Linked DNA regions of Homo sapiens: regions 1 and 3 are each linked to region 2. The links are contacts of gene promoters, found by promoter capture Hi-C in human tissues and cell types (Jung and others, 2019). All regions are on one chromosome and are shown on one strand. The core of a region is centred on a gene start or on the middle of the fragment in contact, and the rest is flanking DNA. Distances in the headings are between cores, read along the strand shown. Region 1 holds the start of ALOX15 (arachidonate 15-lipoxygenase). Region 2 holds the start of VMO1 (vitelline membrane outer layer 1 homolog). Region 3 overlaps KIF1C (kinesin family member 1C).

Region 1 (3,961 bases), core at 351-2,850, 140 kb before region 2:
AGTGACAGAAAGGGAAGGCAGGGGAAAGGCGCGCAGAAAGAGAGCGGCGGGGAAGGGAGGGCGAGCAGCATCTTGGAGCTGGAGCTCAGAGCCCAGGTGTGGGGGGTCAGCAGGTCCGGAGGCTCTCGAAGGTGGCGCCAGGGGCTTTGGATTTGGTCCCGAGAACAAGCGGGAGCCGTTCGAATGTGTTAAGCAGGGGGAGTGAATTAGGGAGAAATCATTCCGGCTTCAGAAGGGCTTGGAAGGTCTGCAGCAGAGGTGGCGAGGCCGCTGGAGGTTTGAAATGGCTTTTAAAATAGAGAAACCGGGAGGACCGACGACCGCTCCGGCGACCGCAGTTTCCAGGCACCAGAGCTGTGTGGAATGAGGGGCGCTCAGGAGCATCCCCTTAATTCCAAGGAGATCGAGTAGCGGGAACATTTATTGAGCCTTTACTGTGTGTCACCAACTGCCCACCATAGGGAGGAAAAAAGGGAGGAGGGAGCGCGCCTTTCCACCTTCCGTGCCCCGTCCCCTCACCATGGAGTCGCGGGGCCACCTGCTCCGTGCGCATTTTCTCTCTTCCTGGCTCCCTTTGCCCCGCTTTCTCGGAAGCTCGGAGCAAGGGCGTGGAGTGCGGGGAGCAGGGCTCCGCAGGTTCAAGAGGACGCGGGCGGTCGGGGGCGGGACGGATATTGGGCAGGGACGCGGGAGATGCTCAGGGTCTAGAACTGACTGCGCCGGATTCTTGTTTAGAGGGAGGTGAAGAGAGGAAGGAGGCGCGGGTGACACCGGGGGAGGCAGGAGGAGAGGGCTGGGAGGTGGGGAGAGGGGAGGACCTCATCCGGGCATGTTGCTTTGACGTTCCCTGAGACAGACATCCGGATTTGGGGATCTGGGAGAGAGCTAGAGCAGTGATGGGAATTTGGGCTTTCGCGGAAGAAAAAAAGTTAACAGGACCGGGTAGAACACCCGGTAGATGTGACATGAGATATGACGGGAGGTGGGTCGGGAAATCGAGAGCGTTCTCCTGTCTTGACTCCCCATCCCTTCCCTCTCACCACCCACTCCACCCCAGGTGATAAAGCCTGAAAGGTAGAGATCCAACAGCGCTAGCGGTTGAAACGGTTTTTAAAATAGAGAAAGCGAGAGGACCGACGGCGGCTCCAGTGACTGCTGAGTTTCCAGACAAGGGAGCTTTGTGCAATGAGGGGCGCACAGGAGCATGCCCTCAATTCCAAGGAGATCGGGTAGCGGCAACATTTATTGAGCGCTTACTGTGTGCCACCGACTGCCCTAAAGCCCCCCACCCCCGTGGCCTCCGCGCGCTTTGAGCCCAATGCGCGGGCCCTTGGCAAAGAGAATCGGCCAGAGGCCAACGGGGGCGCATGTCCTCCCCGGTATTTGACTGACTCGGAGCCAGGGGCGCAGCCCACCCCGCCCGGCTCTGGGGAGCTCACCTTGCCCCGTGCGGGCCACAGTCGCTTCCCGAGCGCCGCCTCCCCGTGCTGGCCGACCAGCCACAGCTGCACCTGGTTGTTGGAACCGGCATAGAGCGAGGCCCCAGTGGACACGCGGATGCGGTAGAGACCCATCTTGCTCAAAGATGTTTCGCTCCTTCTGGTGGAGAAGGGTGGACGAGCTAAATAACCCAGCCTGAGACCCCGCCCTCTCGGAGGTCGCTTGGGGTCGGAATGTGGGTGGCAGGTCTCCAATCAACTCCGCCTACCGCTGGGGCCCCCAGCTCCAAGGAGCAGAGCTTCAAGGGGCAGAATTCAGCCCCAGTCCAAAAGGCGGTGTCCTGGCGAGAGCAGGGAGTGGAAACCACTATCTTGACGGGAGGGAGAAAAAGAAAAGGATTTGGACCGAAAACACGCAGGAAGAGGGAATCAACGCCTGGTACAGCAGGCAGGCGAGGTGGGGGTAGGAGTTATGCACGTGTGTACCACGGACTTTGGGCCAAGCCTGGGTGGCTGGGAAGCCAACCTCCATCTAAACGCACGCGTGCACACACACACACACGCAAGGACACGCGCGCGCACACACAAGCCTCACAAGTTGGATTGCAGGAGAGGGTGAAGTGGGCGAGGAGACCCAGTTTGCAGTGGCATTTGAGGAAGGTACATTCAGGCCACGGAATTCATTCGACCAGCTTTGCACACTTGCCTTCTCTGTGCCAGCCACTGGGACTCATTCCTTTTGAGCATAAAAGCCGCTGCCTCCCTGTTGCCTGCAGAATAAAAGTCCAAATGTTTCTGGCATTCAATGCCCTTGCTAACCTGACCTGCTCTCCTCACCTCTCATCCCACTGCACCCTGGCATCTCCTGTGCTGGAGCCATGTGTTCCCCGGAACCCCCCCTCCCCCCGCCGCCCCTGCTGTTCTCTCAAAGAACTCACTTCTGGGTTAGTCTGGTCATGCTTCTAAACCCTAATTCGTCTCCAGTTTCTTTTTGGGCTGGAGCCATGTGTTCCCCAGAACCCCACCTGCTGTTCTCTCAAAAGAACTTGCTCCTGGATTAGTCTATTCATCTATTCATGCTTCTAAACCCTAGTTCACCTCCGGTTTCTCAGGAAAGTCTTACCCGGTACTTTCACCCCCCACCACCCCACCAGAGTGAATTAGCTTTCCTTTTTTTTTTTTTTTTGAGATATAGAGTCTCACTCTGTCACCCTGGAATGCAGGGTGGAGTGCAATGGCACGATCTCGGCTCACGGCAACCTCTGCCTCCCGGGCTCAAGCAATTCTCTGCCTCAGCCTTCCGAGTAGCTGGGATTACAGGCGCCTGCCACCATGCCTGGATAATTTTTGTATTTTTAGTAGAGACGGGGTTTCTCCATGTTGGCCACGCTGGTCTTGAACTCCTGACCTTGTGATCCACCCACCTCAGTCTCCCAAAGTGCTGGAATTACAGGTGTGAGCCACGGCGCCCGGCCCAGCTTTCCTTTCTAACACTTTTCTCCTTGCGCACACTTCTACTGTTGCACAGTTAATACTGCAGTGTGAGCATTTGTATGTGTGTATCCCCCACTAATGTGAGCCCGTCCTAGGCAGGGACTACACACCCAGCAGGACTCTCACTTTTGTTTCCCCTGGAGACGGCACAGTGTCAGGGTTTGTGGGTGTCAATAAGTGTTTGCTGAAACACACTGAGCTGAAAAATTCATTATAAATGAATGCTTCCCTTGGGGGAGACAAAGGGAAACAAATTATCAGGCAATGTAAACAAAAGGGGAATACTAACATAAACTTCATGGCATGGATTACAATCAGCCTGGTAACACAAATGAAGTCCACGAAAATATGTCTGTGATGCATATTTTCTGGTTTGCTTGTTTTTTGTTTTTGGTGTTTTTTTTTTTAATGAGATGGAGTCTTGCTCTGTTGCCCGGGCTAGAGTACAGTGGTGTGATCTCGGCTCACTGCAACCTCCACCTGCCGGGTTCAAGCGATTCTCCTGCCTCAGCCTCCAGAGTAGCTGGGATTACAGGCACCCACCAACATGCCCGGCTACTTTTTGTATTTTCAGTCGAGATGGGGTTTCACCATGTTGGCCAGGCTGGTCTTGAACTCCTGACCTCAAGTGATCCACCTGCCTCGGCCTCCCCAAGTGCTGGGATTACAGCCATGAGCCATCATGTCCGGCCCTGCTTAATTGTTTACTGGGAAGTACATTCATGTGATTCAAAATTCAAAAGGTACAAAGTGATATTCACTAGTTTCTCCCTCCTCTTGGCCCCAAGCCACCCAGTTGCTCCACTCCCAGCAATCACAGTTACCAGTCTCTTCTGTGCACTAATATTACTGAGCAAATACACGCCTATCTTTGTCTTTTTCTGCACATTGTAGCATGCCTTATTCTGCATCTCGTTTTTCCATAGTGCAACAGGAGGTCATTCCATATCCATGCATAAAGAGCTTCCTTGTTCTTTGCTAAGGCTGCCATTTGCTGTAACGCCATAAATTCTACTAGTCTCTTGTAG
Region 2 (4,623 bases), core at 989-3,488:
TCATTGCAGCCTCCACCTCCTGGGCTAAAGCAATCCTCCTGCCTCTGCCTCCTGAGTAGCTGGGACTACAGGCGCACACCACCATACCCCTGCTAATTTTTGTACTTTTTGTAGAGAGGGGATTTCACCATGTTGCCCAGGCTGGTCTCCAACTGCTGAGCTTAAACAATCCACCCACCTCAGCCTCCCAGAGTGCTGAGATTACAGCTGTGAGCCACCACATCTGGCCATAATTTGGTAGAATTTTCTTAATCTTAGGTCACTGGTTCAGAAAGGAGACAACCTAGGCACCTAATGGGGGCAGGGTGTCTGCAGACTCTCTCAGAAAGCCAGACTTCCTGGGCCCGCACGATGGTGCAAGCCGGTAATCCCAAAACTTTGGAAGGCTGAAGCCAGTGGATCACTTGAGGTCAGGAGTTTGAGACCAGCTTGGCCAACATGGGGAAACTCCATCTCTACTAAAAATACAAAAATTAGCTGGGCATGGTGGTGGGTACCAGTAGTCCCAACTACTCAGGAGGCTGAGGCAGAAGAATCGTTTGAACCCAGGAGGTGGAAGTTGCAGTGAGCCAAGATCATACCACTGCACTCCAGCCTGAGTGACAGAGTGAGACTCCAAAAAAAAAAAAAAAAAAAAAAGCCAGACTTCCATCACTTGTCTGAAAATTATCTGTTTAAGTGCGTTTTTCTCGAGTCCATAACTTTTCAGCAATCTACCATAGACCCCTGAGACCAAATCCAAATGTATGCCTCACCTAATGCTAAGTTAGGAGGGGAAAAGGAGACTCAGTTCCCCATCCCTTAAACAGGCGAGACCAGCCGGGCATGGTGTCTCACGCCTGTAATCCCAGCACTTTGGGAGGCCAAGGTGGGCGGATCATGAGGTCAGGAGATCGAGACCATCCTGGCTAACACGGTGAAACCCCGTCTCTACTAAAAATACAAAAAAAAAAAAAAAAAATTAGCCGGGCGTAGTGGCGGGCGCCTGTAGTCCCAGCTACTCGGGAGGCTGAGGCAGGAGAACGGCGTGAACCCGGGAGGCAGAGCTTGCAGTGAGCCGAGTGAGCCACTGCACTCCAGCCTGGGGGACAGAGCGATACTCCGTCTCAAATAAATAAATTAATAAATAAATAAATGAAATAAACAGGCGAGACCAAAGTCAACTCAGAGAAGCTTTAATAGCAAGAGGTGGGACTAGCCTCCTGGCCCGGGAGAGAGCGGCGGCGGCGGCGCCGTTCAACTGCGGCAGCAGAATAAGCGCGCGTCGTTCAGCGCAGTGTCATCGCCGAGGCCTCTAGGTCCCTGGATCTTGGTCTGCAGGCCGCACGCGCCCTTGGGGCAATGGTCACTCCAGTCTCCAAAGTCTCCCCAGCTCAGCCCAGGCCCCTGCAGTTCCTCGCCGTCTGAACAGCGGAAGCGCACGTTGTTCGCTGCTGTGTTGTCACCGAGGGTCGTGGGTGCCTCCACGCGAAGCGAGAAAGCCACTAGGTAGGCGCCGCCGCGACACCACAGCGGCTCACTCCATTCGCCCCAGCTGCAAGGCAAAGGGAGATGCGTTGCCTCTGCGGGCCCCCCATTCACCAAGCCCTTGAGACTTTCCAAGCCAAGTGCTGTGTATATGACCTGGTGGGCTGGGTGCTCCCCGACCTCCGCCGAGGAGCGGAGGAGGGGTCTTCCATCCACCCTTCGCCTCCCCGGTCTATACTGCCCCGTAGCTCTGGCGGAGCCAGCCTGCCTGTTGCGACGGAGTATGTAATAGAGGGTAAGGGACATACCATCACCCCAAGGGATCCTCGACCCCTGCGCCCCACCTTCCAGACTGGGACTCTACCACGTGCGTATTGCCTAGGACGTTCCCGCGCGCGCAGTGCAGCCTGATCCCATTCAGTGCAGTGTCGTCGCCAGGAATGCCTTGGGGAGGCTCCACCTGGGTATCGAGGAGAGGGGCAAGGGCGAGTCACGGAATTATCATCCTTGGCTCTATGGTCCCACGCATCTCCGCCCTCTCCAGGACCTACGCCTGAGCCCCAACCTTGAGCGAGAACCCGCTGGCGAAGAATCCATCGGGACACATCTCAGGCCAGGCCCAGTCGCCCCAGGGACCCCCGCTGGTCACTTCGATGACCGCCGTGTAGCCGTTCCGGCCATCTGTCTGTGCACATGTGAAACCAGTCGCCCGCAGAAGCAGCAGCAGCGGCAGCAGCTTGGCTCCTGCGCCCCGCTCCATCCTGTAGCGTCTGTGAATCAGGCCTCCTAAGCAGATTTATATCAGTTTGGCCTCTGTGAGGGCTCCGATTGCGGAAGGGCCTCCCAGATTAAGTGAAACCCAAAACTAATCCACTCCCGGAACCCTATTTCCTGCTCCCGGAGGCAGAGGCTCCCAGAGCTAGGGTAGGAGGGGCAGTGAGAGAGGGCGAATTAAAATAACCATCACCTACTGAATATTTACTATAGGCTACGAATTATGGTTAGCGCTTTGCAGTATTTTGTTTAACCCTCACAACAATTTTTGGGGGGTGAGAATTATCCTTCCTATTTTGTAGATGAGGGAACTGGCTCAAAAATGGCAAGCAACTTGCCTTAGGTTTACAGCCAAGCAAGCTGGGAAACATTCCAGCAGTGAGAGTGGAGACAGAGCAGAGACCAGGGCTAGGGATGGAAGTGACCTCCCGGGAGTCCCACCAGTGACGGGATGGGGCAAGAGCAACCCAGAGACCTCCAGGATGTGAGGGGACATCAGAGTGAGGATAGGACAAGAATCCTCGAACTGGAGAAGCTGAGAAAACTCCTGTCAGCTCAGAAGTCTCTTCCTCCTCTGAGAGGTCTTCTGAGAGCTCAGGGCCCTAACACCTTGAGAATCCGGGACACTCCTCCCTACCTTAGAAGAAGACATATACAAACAGAAATAATTCTTTTTTATTTTTATTTTTTGAGTCGAAGTCTCACTCTGTCGCCCAGTGGCGGCATCGCAGTGGCGCGATCTCGGCTCACTGCTACCTCCACCTCCTGGGTTCAAGCGATTCTCCTGCCTCAGCCTCCCGAGTAGCTGGGACTACAGGCGCGCGCCAAGACGCCGCCCCGCTAATTTTTGTATTTTTAGTAGAGACCGGGTTTCACCGTGTTGGCCAGGATGGTCTCTATCTCTTGACCTTGTGATCCGCCTGCCTCGGCCTCCCAAAGTGCTGGGATTACAGGCATGAGCCACCGCGCCCGGTCCAACAGGAATAACTCTAAGAAGTTTGGGGACAGGAGACTAAGAACCCCTAAGAAAAGATCATGCTGTTTCTTCCATTGCTTTCTGTATCCTTATATCCTTTCCTGGAATGCCTTTCCCCCTGTGACCACCAGATGGACTCCTAATTTGCAAAACAAAAAGCGAGAAAATCTGGCTAAGTATGTTTTTTGTTTGTTTGTTTGTTTGTTTGTTTTGAGACGAAGTCTCACTCTGTTGCCCAGGTTGGAGTGCAGTGACGCCATCTCGGCTCACTGCAACCTCTGCCTCCCGGGTTCAAGCGATTCTCTTCCCTTAACCTCCCGAGTAGCTGGGATTATAGGCGTTCGCCACCACGCCCGGCTAATTTGTATATTTTTAGTAGAGACGGGGTGTTGCCATGTTAGCCAGGCTGACCTCAGGTGATCCGCCCACCTCGGCCTCCCAAAGTGCTGGGATTACAGGCGTGAGCCACCGTGCCTGGCCTAAAAATGCCTGGCTAAATTTGTTAGGGGCCACAACCCCAGATTTACCTGCCCCTCATACACACTCCTTTGTTTATTCAATACCTATTTAGCAATAATATGTTTTGGCTTAAGCAATATTCCACTTGCTGTAAGCAAGAATAACAAGGCCCCTGTCATCAGAGGTCACATTCCAGTGGGGGAGACAGAGGATAAATTCTCCCCCAGTGGACCTTGAGCTCTGTGAAGGCACTTTTGTATTCTTGAAGCCTAGTACGTGCGGAAGTACTTAATAAAAGTTGGTGCAATGAATGATTGAAGAGCCAATCTGGAGTTTTGAAAATTAAACCACAAAAATGCAAAAGGATAAAGCCTGACGTACGTATATGATTGCAAGAGGTCATGTATCCAGGTCAAGACAAAGTCCCCTGGGAATAAGATAGAGAATTTAGAAGTGGGTGTTCCCGGCTGGGCGCGGTGGTTTACGCCTGTAATCCCAGCACTTTGGGAGGCCAAGTTGGGCGGATCACAAGGTCAGGAGTTCGAGACCAGCCTGTCCAGTATGGTGAAACCCTGTCTCTACTAAAAATGTAAAAATTAGCCGGCACTTTCCAGCCTGGGCGACAGAGCGAGACTTTGTCTCAAAAAACAAAAAAACAAAAAACAAACAAAAAAAAAAAGAGAGCGAGAGAGAAGTGGGTGTTCCCTGGATCCCAGAGCCGGACAATGCTTGAACTTAATAAGATTTATAGGGCAATTGTGGTCAGCTTTTCCATTTAGTGTTTTCACATACGTTATCATTTAATCCTCACATGAGGCTTGCAAAGTACCTATTATTATCCTCAATTTACAGTGGAGGGAACTCAAGCCCAGAGTGAATTTAGGGCCCACACCACTGCTCAGTAGGGGAGCTGTTCTGGGCCCTGCCTCTCTTCCCAATACTCAGAG
Region 3 (4,173 bases), core at 869-3,368, 220 kb after region 2:
GGATGGTGCAGAGGCCAGTTTGAGCAGAGCATGAACTTCCAGTTCCACCAGGGAACCAGCCCAGCCCGTCTGGACCATGGTGTGAAGCAGCAGAGGATCAGGCCCTAAGTCAGATACACTGTGCTCTGAGCCAGACAGTGTCACTGGGGGCTGCCTGGAAGAGGTGATGGGTTACCAGAAGAAGGCTCCTCTCTGTTTTGTAAAGTCAGGTCCATCTGGGGGACTAAGCAAGCAGGGATCACTGAACCCCTGTTCTGAAAAGAGGAGAGGGGTTTTGCCTTGCCTGGCCCAAGCCACATTGAGGGAGTGAAAGAGCTGTGGGCGGTAGGCCAGGCTGCGTGTCTGGGGTCTTGTCTGGGGCTGGGTACCCTGGGGCTTTGGGGTCCTTCTGAGGGATCCAGACTCTTCTGGGACCCAGCCACACCTAGGTGGAAAGAGGGGCTACGGATGCGCTCAGCATGGCTTCCAGCCACCTTTGTATACCTGGAGCTGGGCCGCTTCCACCACGGTTGCAAGGATGGAGGAAAAGCAGAAAGGACTGGGGAGACTGGTGGGGTGGAGGTTTCTTCCTTGGAGAGCTTGCAGAGATGCCACCTGCCAAAGCCTGGGGACCAAAGGAGGGGGTTCTTGTTTTAATTGTTCTTATAAAGGTAATACACACCAGAGAGAACATTCTAATAGTTCTAAAAGGTGTGTACAGTGAAAAGTCTCCAATTTACAGCATTTTGTTATAGAAAAAAAAAAAAAGTAACTCTCCATCCTTCCCACCCTTAAGTTTCCCCTCAGAGGCAGCCTTCATTATGAGTTCTTTTTTTTTTTGAGACGGGGTCTTGTACTGTCACCCGGGCTGGAGTGCAACGGTGCAATCTTGGCTGACTGCAACCTCCGCCTCCTGGGTTCATACGATTCTTCTGCCTCAGCCTCCCAAGTAGCTGGGATTACAGGCGCACACCATCACACCCGGCTAATATTTTGTATTTTTAGTAGAGATGGGGTTCACTATGTTGGCCGGAGTGGTCTTGAACTTCTGACCTCGTGATCCACCCACTTCGGAGTCCCAAAGTGCTGGGGTTACAGGTGTGAGCCACCGTGCCAGGCCCATTATGGGTTCTTACTATATTCTCCTTGGGTCGGGCCTGGTGGCTCACACCTGTAATCCTAGCACTTTGGGAGGCCAAGGCGGGTGGATCACGAGGTCAGGAGATTGAGACCATCCTGGCTAACACAGTGAAACCCCGTCTCTACTACAAATACAAAAAATTAGCCACGTGTGCTGGCGGGCGCCTGTAGTCCCAGCTACTAGGGAGGCTGAGGCAGTAGAATGACATGAACCCGGGAGGCAGAGGTTGCAGTGAGCTGAGATCGCACCACTGCACTCCAGCCTGGGTGACAGACAAGACTCTGTCTCAAAAAAAAAAAAAAGAAAAAATGTTCTCCTAGAGATGCTGTCTAGGAGATGTTATAACACATGTACAGGCATATGTTATATAGAACTATACACATTTACTCACATTCACGGCCTCTCTAATAGTTGTAGTTGCATATCTATTTTATTTATTTATTTTGAGACAAGAGTCACACTCTGTCGCCCAGGCTGGAGTGCAGTGGCACAATCTCAGCTCAGTGCAAACTCTGCCTCCCAGGTTCAAGTGATTCTCATGCCTCAGCCTCCCAAGTAGCTGGGATTACAGGCACCCACCACCACGCCGGGCTAATTTTTGTATTTTAGTAGAGACAGGGTTTCGCCATGTTGGCCAGGCTGGTCTCAAACTCCTGGCCTCAAATGATGCACTGGCCTTGGCCTCCTGAAGTGCTGGTATTACAGGTGTGAGCTACTGTGCTTGGCCTGCATACCTTATTTTAAAGCTTCCTTTATTTTTTTCACGGTGTCAGGGTATTCTATTGTGTAGATGTAGGATAATGTATTTAACCAGCTTCCCACTGATGGACATTCAGATTGTTTCCCATTCCTTGATACTACAAAAAAAGGCTACAATGCATAGTCTTACAAATGGGTGTTATCTGTAGAGCAGATTCCTAGAAATGGAGATTTTGGGTCAAATGGTAGCCATGTAAAATTTTAATCTAGGCCGGGTGCGGTGGCTCACGCCTGTAATCCCAGCACTTTGGGAGGCCGAGGCGGGCGGATCACGAGGTCAGGAGATCGAGACCATCCTGGCTAACAAGGTGAAACCCCATCTCTACTAAAATAGAAAAAATTAGCCGGGCGTGGTGGCGGGCACCTGTAGTCCCAGCTACTTGGGAGGCTGAGGCAGGAGAATGGCGTGAACCCGGGAGGCGGAGCTTGCAGTGAGCCGAGATCATGCCACTGCACTCCAGCCCAGGTGACAGAGCGAGACTCCGTCTCAAAAAAAAAAATTTTTTTTTTAATCTATATTGCCAAAGTGCCCTCTGAAGATTATAACCATACCAATTTATTTTACTTTTTTGAGATGGAGTCTTGCTGTGTTGCCCAGGCTGGAGTGCAGTGGTGCAATCTCGGCCCACTGCAAGCTCCGCCTCCCGGGTTCACGCCATTCTCCTGCCTCAGCCTCCCAAGTAGCTGGGACTACAGGCGCCCACCACCACTCCTGGCTAATTTTTTGAACCATACCAATTTATACTCCCAAGGGTAACATACAAGAGAGCCCATTTCCCCTCGCCCTTTCCCACATTCTGGCTTAGTAAGACTTTTCTCTTTGCCTGTGTGATTGGTGAGAAGGTGTCTTAAGGTAGTTCACTTTTACATTTTTCTCAAGGTGGTGAGGATGAACTCTTCTCATGTTTAAAAGCCATGTGGTCTAAAGCCAGAAGAGAGAACTGTTAGACTCATGGGGAAATGGGTTTGGTGTGAGTAGCTCCAACAGGGAATAGTTGGGTCTTAGAGGAAAAAACTACAGTTTGTCTTGGAGGGAGCCTCCTCTTGCTAAGACCCCCACCACCAGGGCTAAGGATTGCTTAAATCAGTGGTGTTCAAACCTGGTTCTGAGCTGCCTTCTCAGGGGCTGAGGATAGGGACAGGACCAGACCCTGGGGCTCTCACCCCCAGCCTGGGCCTGAGCAGCTTCTTGCTTATCTGCTTGATGTCCTAGGCTTCTAGAGAAGGTTTCATTTTGAACAAAGAGTTATAGGGCTGAAGAAAAAGTTGAAAAGCACCGCCTCAAATCGTGTTCCCTCTCCCCAGGGATAGATTGCTTTCTGCTTCCGGAGCCCATCAGCGTTTGCCAGTCCCAGAGCAGGCCTGACACTGCAGTGTAGGGAGGGGCATGGGAGTCCCTCAGGAGAAGTGTCGCAGGAGTGATCCTTGGAGCACTTGGGTGAAGGGCGGATGCACAAGATACACAGACACCTCTGGGGGACACAGCTTTGGGCTCTGAGTGTTAAGTGGCTCCCAGAGAAATAGAGGTTCGACTCCGTGCTGTTTCCCTTCTGTACCCTGTGCTTTCTGCCTCCATGCTTCTGTCCAGGCTGCTTTCACCCGGAGCGCTCTTGTGCATGTCCACGCCCTCCTTGTCCTCAAAGGCTGGCTCCCATGTTACCCTTCCATTAAGTCCTCCTGATCCCCTTGAAATCCCATAGTTCTTCACTTTGTTCCTCTTTGCATGTGAGTCCCTCCCAGAACACAGTGGCACTCAACCCCCTGGGAACAAATGAATGAATAAACGAACTTAAACAAGGGCATGAGACAATCAGAAACTCCTCCATGAGGCATCCGTTTCCCACTTGTAATGGTGTTTCCACGCCAAGCCTCACCTCCCCTAGCTGACTCTCATTTCCTGACTGACTGGACAGCAGTGCCTGGGCTTGACTCATCTCTGTACCCCGCCTAGCGCTTCACCAGGGTGAGGTAGAAAGGCCACAGTCAGTCCTTCTGCAGCAGAGGCAGGGGTCTTGTGTTCTGATGGAAGGCTTAGGAAAACTTCCCGGAGGAAGTTGCATTTCAGACAGACTGGGAGGAACGTGAAGGAAGTGAATGATTTTGGCAGGTGGGGGCGGGGCGGGAGGCGGTCTGTTGTTGGGGACATTGGCAGTCAGGGATGCAGGAGGCCTACTTTGGAGGGAGTGCTCAGGGGTCCGCTGAGTGGAAGTACAGAGTCTGGGAGAGAGCCTGGGAGGGGGGCTTGGACAGATGGACTGGAGCCGGGACATGGAGGAGGCCCAGGGATGCCAGGG

What was found. Contacts are between HindIII fragments. The study calls those that stand out against the background at their distance.
Region 1: a contact is called between the fragment with the promoter of ALOX15 here and the fragment with the promoter of VMO1 in region 2, in 1 of the 25 tissues and cell types used here (adrenal gland).
Region 3: a contact is called between a fragment that was not itself captured here and the fragment with the promoter of VMO1 in region 2, in 1 of the 25 tissues and cell types used here (stomach).

The regions. Positions count from the first base shown.
Region 1 is chr17:4,640,078-4,644,038 of GRCh38, forward strand. It overlaps ALOX15 (arachidonate 15-lipoxygenase), which reads right to left and starts at 1,601. Exons shown (of 14, transcript NM_001140.5): 1 at 1,440-1,601. The coding sequence starts at 1,574. The HindIII fragment of the contact is 22,491 bases long and covers 1-3,961 here.
Region 2 is chr17:4,784,126-4,788,748 of GRCh38, forward strand. VMO1 (vitelline membrane outer layer 1 homolog) reads right to left here and starts at 2,239. Exons shown (of 3, transcript NM_182566.3): 1 at 2,033-2,239; 2 at 1,812-1,927; 3 at 1,160-1,534. The coding sequence starts at 2,227. The coding sequence ends at 1,237. The HindIII fragment of the contact is 14,296 bases long and covers 1-4,623 here.
Region 3 is chr17:5,008,379-5,012,551 of GRCh38, forward strand. The region is part of intron 16 of KIF1C (kinesin family member 1C); the gene reads left to right. Among named protein-coding and RNA genes, the nearest start is that of KIF1C-AS1, 9.6 kb to the right of the region's middle. RefSeq lists a silencer at 3,859-3,918. The HindIII fragment of the contact is 9,299 bases long and covers 1-4,173 here.